3 separate regions of the Homo sapiens genome follow, and regions 2 and 3 are each linked to region 1. The links are contacts of gene promoters, found by promoter capture Hi-C in human tissues and cell types (Jung and others, 2019). All regions are on one chromosome and are shown on one strand. The core of a region is centred on a gene start or on the middle of the fragment in contact, and the rest is flanking DNA. Distances in the headings are between cores, read along the strand shown. Region 1 holds the start of EVX2 (even-skipped homeobox 2). Region 2 overlaps LOC107985962 (a long non-coding RNA gene). Region 3 overlaps LOC107985962 (a long non-coding RNA gene).

Region 1 (3,980 bases), core at 951-3,450:
CTCCGTGTAACGATTTATGCGGAAAATAAATCTCCAAGCTCAAGAGCAAATGAAAAGTTTCACCTCTGGTTCCTGCTTGAGGAACAAAGACCAACTGGGCTTGCCGCCTAGGGGAAAGTGGGGCCGTGGGTATGGGCGAGGGGGCATCTGGCCAGGCGTTGGGCACAATGGAGCAGGGGCGAGTGCTTTCAGCATTGGAGTCACCATTCGGGGGCCTTCTTAGATCCGTCAGGCCGGACAACCGTTCGGATTCGGTGGCCGGGAAATAAATAAGCCAATTCCTTTGGTGACTACCCCCCGCGGATTTCCAGACCCTTAGCTAAATCTAGCCACCCAGAAAGGGGAAAGGGGAAAAAGAAACAATCAACCCAGATGCCCCCGGGGAGGCCAGAGCAGGCATGCACTGGAATTGATACCTTGATGGTGGTTTCGGGCAGGTTGAGTGCCGCGGCCAGCTCGCACCGGCGGGGCCGCGACACATAGTTCTCCCGGTAGAACTCCTTCTCCAGGCGCGCGATCTGCTCGCGGGTGAACGCCGTACGGTAGCGCCGCACTTGATCCGCGCCAGAGCCGGAGCCACCCAGCGCCGCGCTCCCGCCGCTGCCTCCGCTGCCTCCATGCAGGCTTCCGAGGCCTGAGCCCGACGCCGACGTCGTGGTGCCGGCAGCCGAGCCGCTCTCTGCGTACCCTGGCAAACAAACGACCAACAGCGCATGAGTGGCTGTAGGACCAACAGCCCGGCGCTGGCGCTGCGCGCGGATCGGGGAAGCCCCGTCAGGAAGGAGAGTCGCTGCCGGAATTGATGGGGTCTGTCATGCTTACAAATTGCTGCCGTTAATGGAATCAATAAAGTTTGGGGAGCCCTTCATAAGCAAATAATAGAAACGGAATTAGGAGATTTCTTTTTTAATAATTAGAAATTTTCAACCAAGGAGGAAAAGTGGCCGAGGGAAAATGCCTACCTCTGGGCGCAGTTTGGGAAGCTCTGGGTTTCCCATGGTCTGGAGACCGCAGGGCAGCTTTTTATACGGCCTCTAACCTTTATCTGAGTCTTCGGGGTTTCAAATATTTTAAGAGTTCCAACACAGCAGTAGCTCAAACCCAAGCCAATAGGGGGTGAAATATACTTTTCAACTCTTTCTCCCGCTGACCTAAACAGAGACGCCGGCGAGGCTTCCTCCGACTTACCCAGAAGAATGCCCCCTCCAGCCCTGAGGGCACAGGGGCAGGGGAGTTCAGAGTAGTTGCCCAGGGTACCTTTCCCAAAAGCAACTCGGCTGCTGACTAGGGGTCTACCGGCTCGCTCGGGCTCTTAGACACGAGCGCAGAAACATTTTCTCGGACTCAGGAGCGAGGGCGGGTGGGCCTGGTGTTCCAGGCTCCGCAGGCCTGAGCCTGGCGGGAAAGCTCAAGGAGCAGAACTGGAAGGCACGGTCCCAGACATGCGTCCCGCCCCCGCCCGTGCTAGCTCGGTGTAGCTTGCCTGTGGAGGGTCTGAGAGGGGAAAAGGCACCGGGAAAGGCTGGCGGGGGCCGCGGAGGAGCAAAGAGGATGGGACTGGAGAGCGCGGTGCGGCCGGCGCGGTTACCTTTGCCATTGTTTTCCTTAAGCTGAGCGGCGCCGAGGCCCCCGGGGGAGCGAAGCGCGGAGCAGCCCACCTCCACGTCGCTGCTCATGTCGGCCTCAGCGGCCGCCTCTGAATAATGGCCCGGCTTCTTGCGGCTCTCGGCGGCGGAGGAGATTTCGGAGGAGACGGTGCTTTCGCTGCCCGTGTGCTGCAGGTTGAACAAAGTGTCTATTTCGAATTTGCCCTTGGCGGGGAGTTCTCCCAGAGCGCTGTGCAGGGGGGCAGACGGCAGGCGCGGGCTTAGGCGAGCCGGGTGCTGCGAATTTTCCAGGGCCTCGAGCACAGCATTGCCAGCCGAGTTGGACAAATTGGAGAATCTCTTGCCCGCCGTAGGGCTGTGCAGCCCTCTCTCCATCAGAATCATCTCTTTTCTTATTCTTTCCATCATCTCAGCTTTCTTAAAAATGTCACAGTGGCCCTGCTGTCCCGTCCTAATGATAGGCTGCGCCTAGGGCTAATTCTCATTCAGCCCCAGCGAACGCCTCTAAATATTATTATCGCTTTCGGAGGGAGGCGGAAAAATTGTGGGATGCCAGAGCGAGGGAATGACTGGTCAAAATGACCCATACATCCTTCCGATCCCGAGATGTCATTCATCAAAAAGTAGCGCCCGCTCGTCATTAAGGTACGAATGACGCTGTTCGAATAATCATTTATTGTAACAGGTTTATAAGCAAATAAATACACCCTCCTGTCAGTGGGTAATGAAGGCAGCTTCAGAGCAGACAAATAGATCCAGGTAGGAGGCGAGAAGAGACAAGTGAGGAGGAAGGCTCCGGTCCTTTGCCCGCTCCGAGCCAGTTCTGCTCGCCCGGGGGTTTGGCCTCGGGGGTGAAATTGACAGTCTGATTAATAGAGCGCGCCGCGGCACATTTCCCCCTTCATTTAGGGGCATCATTACGCTCTCAGTTTGCTAGGTTGCCCCTTAGGTCCTAATCATGCAGCGCCTTCTTCATTTTTCCTTGGACACAGATACGTATTAAATAATAGATAATGGTTTGACTTTCCAGAGTAGGTCCTCGGGAAGGTTTGGTTTTTTTTTTTTTTTTTTTTTTTTTTTTTACCATTTACAAGCTGGGGGCATAAGTGGGGGGAGATAAGGGGGAGGATGCAGGAAGAGTTGCGTAAGGAGAAGACCTTGCGCCTCTCCTATCTGGATTACTTATCTTTCGGATTTCGGAACCAAATATGTATTTTATTTAACAAATAGGACGCCGGAGTTCTTTCCCTCCCTATTTCTTCACCTCAGCCTAAATGCTCTCCTCCCACCCCGGGAGAGAGAGAGAGCGGAAGAGAGGGAGAGAGGGAGAGAGGGAGAAAGGGAGAGGGAGACGGAGTGAGAGAAAGAGAGAGAGAGAGAGAGAGAGAAATAGAAATATCCTAGAGTTTTGAAAGCGCTTTCTTGCTACGTGGCCGCGGAGGTGCATTGGGCCCGCGCCTCCAAACGGAAATCATTAGGTCCTCTCTGATTTTCTAACACCGTCTGCAGAGTGAGATCTGAACTCGAAGTCCCCGGTTTTTTACTTTTATAATCCTGCTGATAGAAAGCCTTCTCGCCTACGCATTTTCCTGAGGGGAAACGAACTAGGCTGGACGATTTGATAGCAGAATTCGACAGCTAACTTTAAACACAGTGGAGATTTACAGCGCCATACGGGCGCTCCGAATCCACGCTCACGTTGCCAGATTTTCCCCTCCCTCCTCAAATAGAATTATTTGCGGCAAAGGCGCTGGATTTCGAGGTCAAAAGAGGAAAGAGGAGACAGCCTTCTTCCCCTACCTCCCCGCTGCCCTCCCTTCCCCTTTGCTTTTCTTCCTTCTCTCTTTCCTCCCCTCATCAACCCCAGCCCCTTACCTGCGGCCACAGGTATTCCCAGCGTTGGGTCCGGGCGCAGAGAGTCGCCGAACAGCCTTACAGCAGCTCTCTGCGGCCTGGGCTTGGAGGCTGAGCCTCTTGGCGACAACTTTGATAGTCATAATGACGCCGGTGGCAACCATTTTAACGAAGATCAATCTTCACTCCAGGCCGCTCCTCATCTCCCGCGGTTGCGCCCACCCTTCCCTGACCCTCCAAGCACTGTGCCCACCCGCCAACGGCCCAGCCGGAGAGAGATTCGCGGACACAGGCGGAGGCGAGGGAGGACGGGGATGGGACGCGGAGGTCCGCCCGTGAGCTTCTGAAGCGGCTGAGAGACCCTGACAATCTGGGCGCTGGGCGCGGGTCCTGCATCCCCACATTTAGCCTCAATCCGAACCCCAACCAGGGCCCCCTCTTCTTTCTGCCGACACACCCAGAACATTGGGGTGTGTTAGGGGGCAAGCTCGAGATCTATTCGCCTATAGCTCTTGGCGC
Region 2 (3,929 bases), core at 1,217-3,716, 450 kb before region 1:
TGAGTTAATCAAAATTAAGCAGAGTTTTTAAAAAAACTTCAGGACTTCTGAGATCCTTGGGTGTTCTTGACAAGAACATTTGTGTGTTTCATCAAGAATGCCTGTTCTACCCATTACCTATTCATAGTCCCTGGAAACACAGTTTGGAAAATACTATCCTAGGGAGTAGTCATAGTTTAAGATATAATTTACACTAGCTAGCAATTAATTTTTGTAAATATTTTCTCGGTAATTATTTTGCCAGTGGGGTAGAGCTTGAGGAGATAGAAAGTTACAATTCACTCCACTGAGCAAAGAGCCCATCAAAATCCAGAAATAAGATGAAGACAGTTGTGGGTTGGCTCCAGGATGATAAACATTACTTGCTTCATAACTGGCCCCAGCACACAGTATCTTTGTAAATATATGTCTCATGTTGTGATGGTTAATTTTATGTGTTAACTTGACTGGGCCAAAGGATGCCCAGATAGCTGGTTAAACTTATTTCTGGGTATGCCTGGAAGGGTGTTTCTGGAAGAGATCAGATTGAATTGGTAGACTGAGGAAAGCAAATTGCCCTCCCCATTGTAGTCATGACTCATCCAATCTGTTGAGTGAGTGAATAGAACAAAAAGGCAGAGGAAAGTTAAATTTGCTTTCTGACTCCTTGAGCTGAATGTCAATCTTCTGCCTTCAGCACTCCTGGTCCTCAGGCTCTGAGACTGAGACTGGAATCTACACCAGTCTCCAGCTCTCCAGCTCTCAGGACTTCAAAAGACACCTTCAGACTTCCTGGGTCTCCAGCTTACAGATCGTGGGACTTCTCAGCCTCCATAATTGCATAAGACATGGGCCAAAAATATATTATCTATGTATTTACATAGATAAATATCTATCTTCTTTGGCTCTGTTTCTCTGGAGAATCCCGACTAACACACTTGTACAAAATGCTGCATCCCTCTGTTGTATGCTGCTCTCCCTGGTTTGTGTAACCTTTATCCTTTTACTTATAAAGCCCATTTAGAAAAAAAGTCCACTAACCTCTGCATATCTGACACTTTATTGGAATTTACATGTGAAATGCTAATAGCCCCAATGGTCAGTTCAGGATTCCCATTTCAATCCCATCTTCCTAAGGCATCTCTTGGTGGAGAGTGACTTTCTCACTGCTTATTACAAAATAGATACCTTTGCTTGTTTTCTTTTCTATTTCCCAAGACATCAGAAAGCCTTAAGGAATAGAAGTCCCATGGTCTTCGTTTTACTGATTCTTCTCTCCTACATTTTCTCTGACTTCTTAACTTTAAAGAGATTCCTTAAGCTTGGTGTCTTTGCCCTAACATGCGGGCCACATTACTTGAGGCCTTGCTCTAAGAGGCAGAATATATCAATAGCATGAGCTCACATCTGTAATGTCACCTCCATGTGCCTGGCACTGTGCTAAGCACTTCACATAGATTATCTCATTCAGTCCTCACGAAACCAAACCAAAACAGAACAAACAAAACGTTTGTAATTCCCTTTCTACAGGTGAGGAAGCCTGGGCTTGGCAGCTTTTCTAGAATTTCACAGTGGCAGAACAGGATTTGAATTCAGAGCTGTCTAACTCCCAAACCCATATTATTAACTGCTGCCCTTATAGTCAGTTTAAGGCAGTAGTTTTCAAAGTTTGGCTCCTGAAACAGCACCATCAGCATCACCTGGGACCTTGTTACAAATGCAGATTCTCAGGTACCACCGTAGACCTATGAAATCAGAAACTCTGAGCAGGGGGACCAGCAATTTGTGCTATAACAAGCCTTTCGGGTGATCTGATGTACGCTAATATTTTAAAAACCACTGCTCTGAAAACCTAGCAGGAGGGCTTTAGGTCAATGGTGAGAGATAATTTTTTGGCAGCATTGTTAACACTGGTGTAGGCCACCTCAAAAAGCTCCACTCAGACTTCTTTTGCTGGGGTCTTGAACATGTTTGAGCCTGATGAGTGCGGAGGGGCCAGTATCTCCCGCTACTCCCAACCTTATGGACCCTTCTCTCAAGTACACAGCACCACGCTGCTGAATCTGAGTGGCAGCCCAACTCTCTCAACGACACCAGAAAAAAATCTGACCTTAAAATTAAGCCTAACAAAAAACAGGATTCTGATTCCTTGTATAGGTGCTGGAAAAATAATCAGCGGCAACAGGGGGGAACATCATCATTGCTTTCTCCCTTCCTACTCACCCAGTGCAGTGGCATGCCATATATTAGCAGGCACTTTACATCAGACTAATTCAAATCCCCCTGTCAGACAAATCCCACCTATGAGCACTGCTGTCTACACCACATAACACCACATAGATCAAGAGCGGGAAGAGGCCAAAGTCATGAACGCCATAGCTTTCCATAAAACTTAATTAATGACAGAAGCATATTGCTGGGAATGGCAACACGATCATTATTTACGGTTCAGGAAACCCCAAATGTAGGCACTTCCCTTTTCCTTTTCCCCAGCCCCAGGTCTACCCATGAGAAGTTTACTTCATTCATTTCAGTAACTTTGTGAATCATTTGCCAAGTCAGCGAGAACATGTAGCATGGTATACATAAACATTAATATGACAGCTGAACATCCAACACATGTCCCAGGAGAAATGGACCACCCATTGGATGCTGCCCTGTTCTTTTCTGTCCCTGTATCTGAACACTTTTCACACTTCACATTTCTACGGTCGTTAACAGTTCTAACCTGGCACCCCCAAGAACACAATTTCCCCAAGGAACCTTACTGCTAAAAGCTTCAAAAAAAAAAAAAAAAAAAAAACCCTTTCCACCTTCCCAGCCACACCACCGCACACAGGCATGGGCCAGCGACCAGAGAAACAACTCAGCACTGACACGTAGTTATCACTTTGGGAGGCTGTGTAGCAGAGTGGGGGAAAGTGGACATCTGGCTTCGAATTCAGGTGAGATGTTCTTAGTGTCCTCATCCATAAAATGAATCCAATAATAACACTCAGCTTCAAGAGTTGTTGTGGGGTTTGAACCAACATGACGTGTGCAGTGCAGCACCTAGTGTTGAGTAAGGGCTAAGTAAACATTAATGGTATGCTGGCTCCTGCTTTTGTCTTCTTTACTGAGAACGCCAGGTGCCCCCACCCGGCTGGAGTCAAGCCCAGGCTAGTATTTTACCAGACACCCTATTCTATTACCCAGGCAGATTTTAGGAGACGGCCTGAAGGTGAATGTCAATTTTTACCTGTGTGAGTATGTCCATTTTTTCTCTGAAGACAAAGTCTAGGGCTTTCAGCTTATTCTCCAAGGCACTCATGACCACCCCAGCATCTCAGGGAGAGAAAGAAAACTGTACTCTTGGAAAGCACAGAAAGTAAGAACATACATTTATGTTTGAGAAAACAGTTCCATATGTTGGAAAGAGCATTACACCATGAGTCATAAAACTCAACTTTTAGTCTTGCCTCAACCATAAAAGGACTATGACAAATGCCTTATCAGAGCTCAGCTTCCATTTATTTGTTTGAAGAGGACATCATAATAACTCCTTCCCTTGCCTCTTACAGTTGTGGGGATTGTACTAGGTAATGGATGTGAAAGCACCTTTTAAAGCAGAAAACACCACACCAATACATACATGATAATGTAAGGTTCAGATGCTTCATCAGGTGAACTGTTTGCAGCTGGCCTGTGTAGTACAAAAAATTATGAGAAAATAAAGCTTAAGTTATACTTTTCTTCTTGCTCTACTTATGTAAAATAACATCATTATCTCTGAAATAATTTATTAAAAATAAGCAAGCAGAAATTCTTTGTGAAAGGAGAGAATTCTATAAATATTGTTTGATTTGACCCAATCTACTATAATCCTTAGAGGTACCTGGCTTCCCCCAAAGGTTTGCTTTAATTGCATGTCACTGCTAACTTCCTTGTAAAGAGACAGGCCTCTGCCATTC
Region 3 (4,233 bases), core at 150-2,649, 470 kb before region 1:
GTTTGTTTTTTGTTTGTTTGTTTGTTTGAGATGGAGTCTCACTCTGTCACCCAGGCTGGAGTGCAGTGGCGTGATCTCGGCTCACTGCAAGGTCCGCCTCCTGGGTTCACACCATTCTCCTGCCTCAGCCTCCCGAGTAGCTGGGACTACAGGCACCCGCCACCACACCCGGCTAATTTTTTTGTATTTTTAGTAGTGACGGGTTTCACCGTGTTAGCCAGGATGGTCCCGATCTCCTGACCTCGTGATCCACCCGTCTCAGCCTCCCAAAGTGCTGGGATTACACGCATGAGTCACTGTGCCCCGCCCAGGTATGTAGTTTTTAAATCATTCATGTGAGCTGCAGAAAATCATGGCAGTGACAGAGGTCACTGCAGTTGTTCAGCCTAGGTTATCAATTGAGAAAGGCCCAAAAAAATTGCCTGTAAGAGTGAGTAGACATCAGTCCAAGAAGAGATAGGGACATAGAAACCTGGGGGAAGAAAAGGGCAGGGACAGATGGGGAGCATGCTGGCAAGAGGTCAGACATGTGGGGGCCATCAGCCAGCTGTGGGCAACCCTTTCCATAGCATGGCCATGTTTAATTGGGTAGGTCACTGCAGCAAGCCACCCCAAAACAGAGTAGCTTGGAGGATCTCTTTCACCTCAGAATTCCAGGAGGAACCTCTCCTCTGTTGGCTCATCAGCCCCAGAGCCCAGAAATTTCTATGAACTGATCCCAATAAAGCCAAGTAGGCCAACACGTGCCCCCGGCCCCCACCTCGGTCTCAACATACAATACCTTCAGGCAGGCAGAAGTTTCAGGAAGCTGCTTGCCTTTGTCTTATTTGTCTTAGTCTTCCCACAGCTACTAAATAGTTTAGAGCAATACCGTTTGTTCCCAAGGAAAGAAAGAATCTAAAATAAAGGTTTAAAATTCACTGTCAAGGCCGAGTAACCAGTGTTAAACAGAAGACCCCAGGAGTTCTCAGACCCACAAGCAGAAGAGACGCTGGGTTTGGGTTCCTTCCCTGCCTTCGGCCCAGCTTCCTTTGTTCCTACTGTCAACCTCATGATGTGCTTGTGTGACATCTTCTGGTTTTCTGCCCCCTTCATTACTGCCCTTGAGATTCCCTCAAATCTGATTTTCCTTTATAGAAAAATATCAGGGGATGGTGGGGATGATTTGTTCTGGGCCCTGCAACTGCCCTGGAGATGTCTCTGGACAGAGGCTCAGGGGTCAGGCCCGGAGCTGTTTCCTCTGTGTTTTTCCCCCATGGCGTTCAGGACATTTGGCTTCTTTGCAAGGAGCATTCAGTAGGACGGAGACAGTGTGGGTTCCACGTGGGCTCTAAGGAAAATGCCACATAACTAATAGAAAAGCTTAGCGTGAAAACTGACCGTAGCACATGAAAAGTTGTATCCTGGGGAAATTGTGTTTGTTCTTTTAAGTATGGCAACTATTCAGCCTAGGGCAGCAAATGAGGTGCTTGCTCCTTCATGCAATGGAGAGGTTTGCTTGGTTCACACTGTGAGGCAAATGTATGTAGAATATTGCCAATTCAAGGTAAATTGCCACCTCATTAGGGTTATTTGGTATTTTTTTTTCAAACCTGAATTTCTCACAAACCCAGAGGAGGAAATACATTCACTTGCCTGGAGTGAGGAGGGATATCAGTGCCACCTCTCCTCTACTTGCCGAGGTTTCTGGGCTCAAGCACCACACCCTGCTTTGACTGGATTTCCCATCGTGGTCTATGGGAGGCTTAATCCTGTGAACATCTCCTAACACCTGTGCAGAGGGCACTCTCATTTATAGGTTGGCAGGGTTGAGAAAACCCTACATCTAGAAGAGCCACACGCAGCATACATCTTGGTTTCAGCCTATTTCTCTCATGACTCCTCACCTGGAGTCTTGAGAGAGTGAGAACTGGGAGGAAGGTGGATAGTTAGAAAACATCTAGAGCATGGAGTTCTGCTTGATAGATCAGAGTAATCCAGACAATGTGGACGTTCTGACAGGGAGTGGAAAATGGGCACTGAAGGCTTTCTGTGAGGATGTATCCATTGCTCATTTCCAGCCCTGCAGAGCCACAGCCTGGCAATTTCTGGGGCCAGCCTCAGATCCTGCTCTCAGCAGGATGCAGACACTGTATATTGACCCACATGTCAGCCATGTTTTGGAACAACCTAGGGTGTCTCAACTGTTTTGAGGTGGTATTGTCTGGAAAAAGTCAGATATAGGCCATTTAATAGGGCAAGTTACTTTCATGTTCAAGATACGTTGTTTTAGTGCTTTGTGTGCACTCCAGCTATAACAATAGGGTGCCATAAGGTCAAAGAAGTAAGACATAGATTTCTAAGGTATGGCTCCACTCCTGCAGCTTCAAGCCTATGGGAGTAACCGTTTCTCTTCTTGCAATAACTGGATTTCTCACTGGAATGAAGAGTTGTGATTCACAACTTCTGTAGCTGTGGTCTCTTCCTTTAGGGCTAAGGTCACACCAAATGACAGGAAGATGCCGCTTCCCCTGTTGTAGTCACTGAATCTGCTGCTTCTCTCTCTCCTCTCTGGAGGAACAGATGGCAACCCCTTCTCCCTGTTTTTGCCTTCATGTGTGATAGAGATAGTCAGTCCCCCCTGTATCTGTCTAAATAGGCCAGAGCACTGGCTGTCACACTTAGCCCAATTTAGAATCTCTCTTGGTTTAAGAAGGAAGGACTTGTTAAACCACTGATTGCTGGGTGCTGCTCATGTTTCTAATTCAGTAAGTTCAGGTTGAGGCTGAGCATTTGCATTCTAACCAATTCCCTAGTGATGCTGATGCTAATGGTTTCGGAATTGCACTTTGAGAATCACTGAGTTCGGTTATGCTGCAGTAACAAATGTCCCCAAATCTCAGTGGCTTCCGATCACAGAGCTCTATTTTCCACTGGTGTCTCATATCTGTGATAGGTTAGTGGCAGCTGTGCTTCACGTCATCATATCCAGGACCCGAGTGGCCGAACAGCCTCTGACATGTTGCCAATCTCAGGGCATGGGAGAAAGAGGACATGGTAAACCATCACTCAGCTCTTAAAGCTTTGCCTTATATCTCATTGTCTAAAGCAAATCACAGGGCCGAATATGACGTTAGTGGCAAATGAGGGGCCAAACATTTTTGTGAGAATTGTACAGTCTACGGCATCCTCCCTCATATCATTTGTCCCATTCTACCATTGTAAATGAGCTCAGGTTTTGACTGAACAAATGGCTTCCCAGAACAAAGATTGTTTTTTTTCAGACTCTCCTGCAGCTAGGTATGGCTGTGTGAGTTCTGGCCAATGGGTTGTAAATAGAAGGTTGTATAGTTGTTCCAGAAACCTTCCTGAGAGGACAGCACACATGTGCCCTTTTTCTCTTCCCCTCTTCCTCTCTTTAATTGCTTTTTTCATCCTATTCCTTAGCATGCAGATGCTAGCATTTTGAAGCATGAGGTGGTCAAAACTACATGTCTCAGCCTCACAGAAAAGAAACAAGGTGTGTGGAACACCATATCACCATATCAGCCCCAGACCACCTACCTGCATTTCTACATGAGAGAGAAATAAAATTCAATCTCGTCTAAACCACTGTTATCTTGGGTTCTTTGTCACTCACATCTGAAGGTAATTCTAAGTAATGCACCTGCAGAAAGGTTTTCTTTTGAAATTTGCTCACTTCTGTCTGCAGTGTCTTGTGTTCCACTCATCCATCGAGTGTTTTCTGAGCTTCTGAGCTTATTTCTTCCCTTCTTTATTAACAATGCAGTGATAATGTCTACAGAAGGAAGTTAAATACAGCTTTGTTCTTGCTAGGAATATAAACTAAGATTGTAGATGCATGGAGTCTGACAGTGGGAAATATGACAAAGAAAAGGAAAAGCTTGTCTGTTTAGAACTTTCCTAAGGAGCTTCCAAAACTGTCTTCATCTCATCGCAAGAAAGCGGACAATGCTATTCTTTATTGCTAACCCTCCCTTGCAATGTGGAAGTCTTTCTGATGTCAGGGCTTAAAGTGACTTGCATGCCACATGACATGTCGTCTGACCACAGGATAAACAACCACGGCATGCATGTTGAAAGATGGCTGTTAGAGGCCTGTGGTCAGCGTGTCTCTCTCCTCTGTCTTTACTATTAACTCCTCACCTCCATCTCTGTTTCTCTTTGCCAGTCTTTTCGCACTGTGCCTGCTTTTACCTTTTTCACAGTTAAATGTCTGTATGTCTGTATCTC

Evidence for each region. The method cuts DNA at HindIII sites, captures the fragments that hold promoters and counts their contacts. A contact is called where the count stands out against the background at its distance.
Region 2: a fragment that was not itself captured here is called in contact with the fragment with the promoter of EVX2 in region 1 in 1 of the 25 tissues and cell types used here (spleen).
Region 3: a contact is called between a fragment that was not itself captured here and the fragment with the promoter of EVX2 in region 1, in 1 of the 25 tissues and cell types used here (spleen).

The regions. Positions count from the first base shown.
Region 1 is chr2:176,081,762-176,085,741 of GRCh38, forward strand. It overlaps EVX2 (even-skipped homeobox 2), which reads right to left and starts at 2,201. Exons shown (of 3, transcript NM_001080458.2): 1 at 1,589-2,201; 2 at 417-688. The coding sequence starts at 2,015. RefSeq lists an enhancer at 960-1,575. The HindIII fragment of the contact is 9,267 bases long and covers 1,626-3,980 here.
Region 2 is chr2:175,627,979-175,631,907 of GRCh38, forward strand. It overlaps LOC107985962 (a long non-coding RNA gene), which reads right to left. Exons shown (of 4, transcript XR_007087312.1): 4 at 1-3,929. Among named protein-coding and RNA genes, the nearest start is that of LNPK, 370 kb to the right of the region's middle. The HindIII fragment of the contact is 4,114 bases long and covers 410-3,929 here.
Region 3 is chr2:175,608,433-175,612,665 of GRCh38, forward strand. LOC107985962 (a long non-coding RNA gene) reads right to left here. Exons shown (of 4, transcript XR_007087312.1): 4 at 1-4,233. Among named protein-coding and RNA genes, the nearest start is that of LNPK, 390 kb to the right of the region's middle. The HindIII fragment of the contact is 4,145 bases long and covers 1-3,472 here.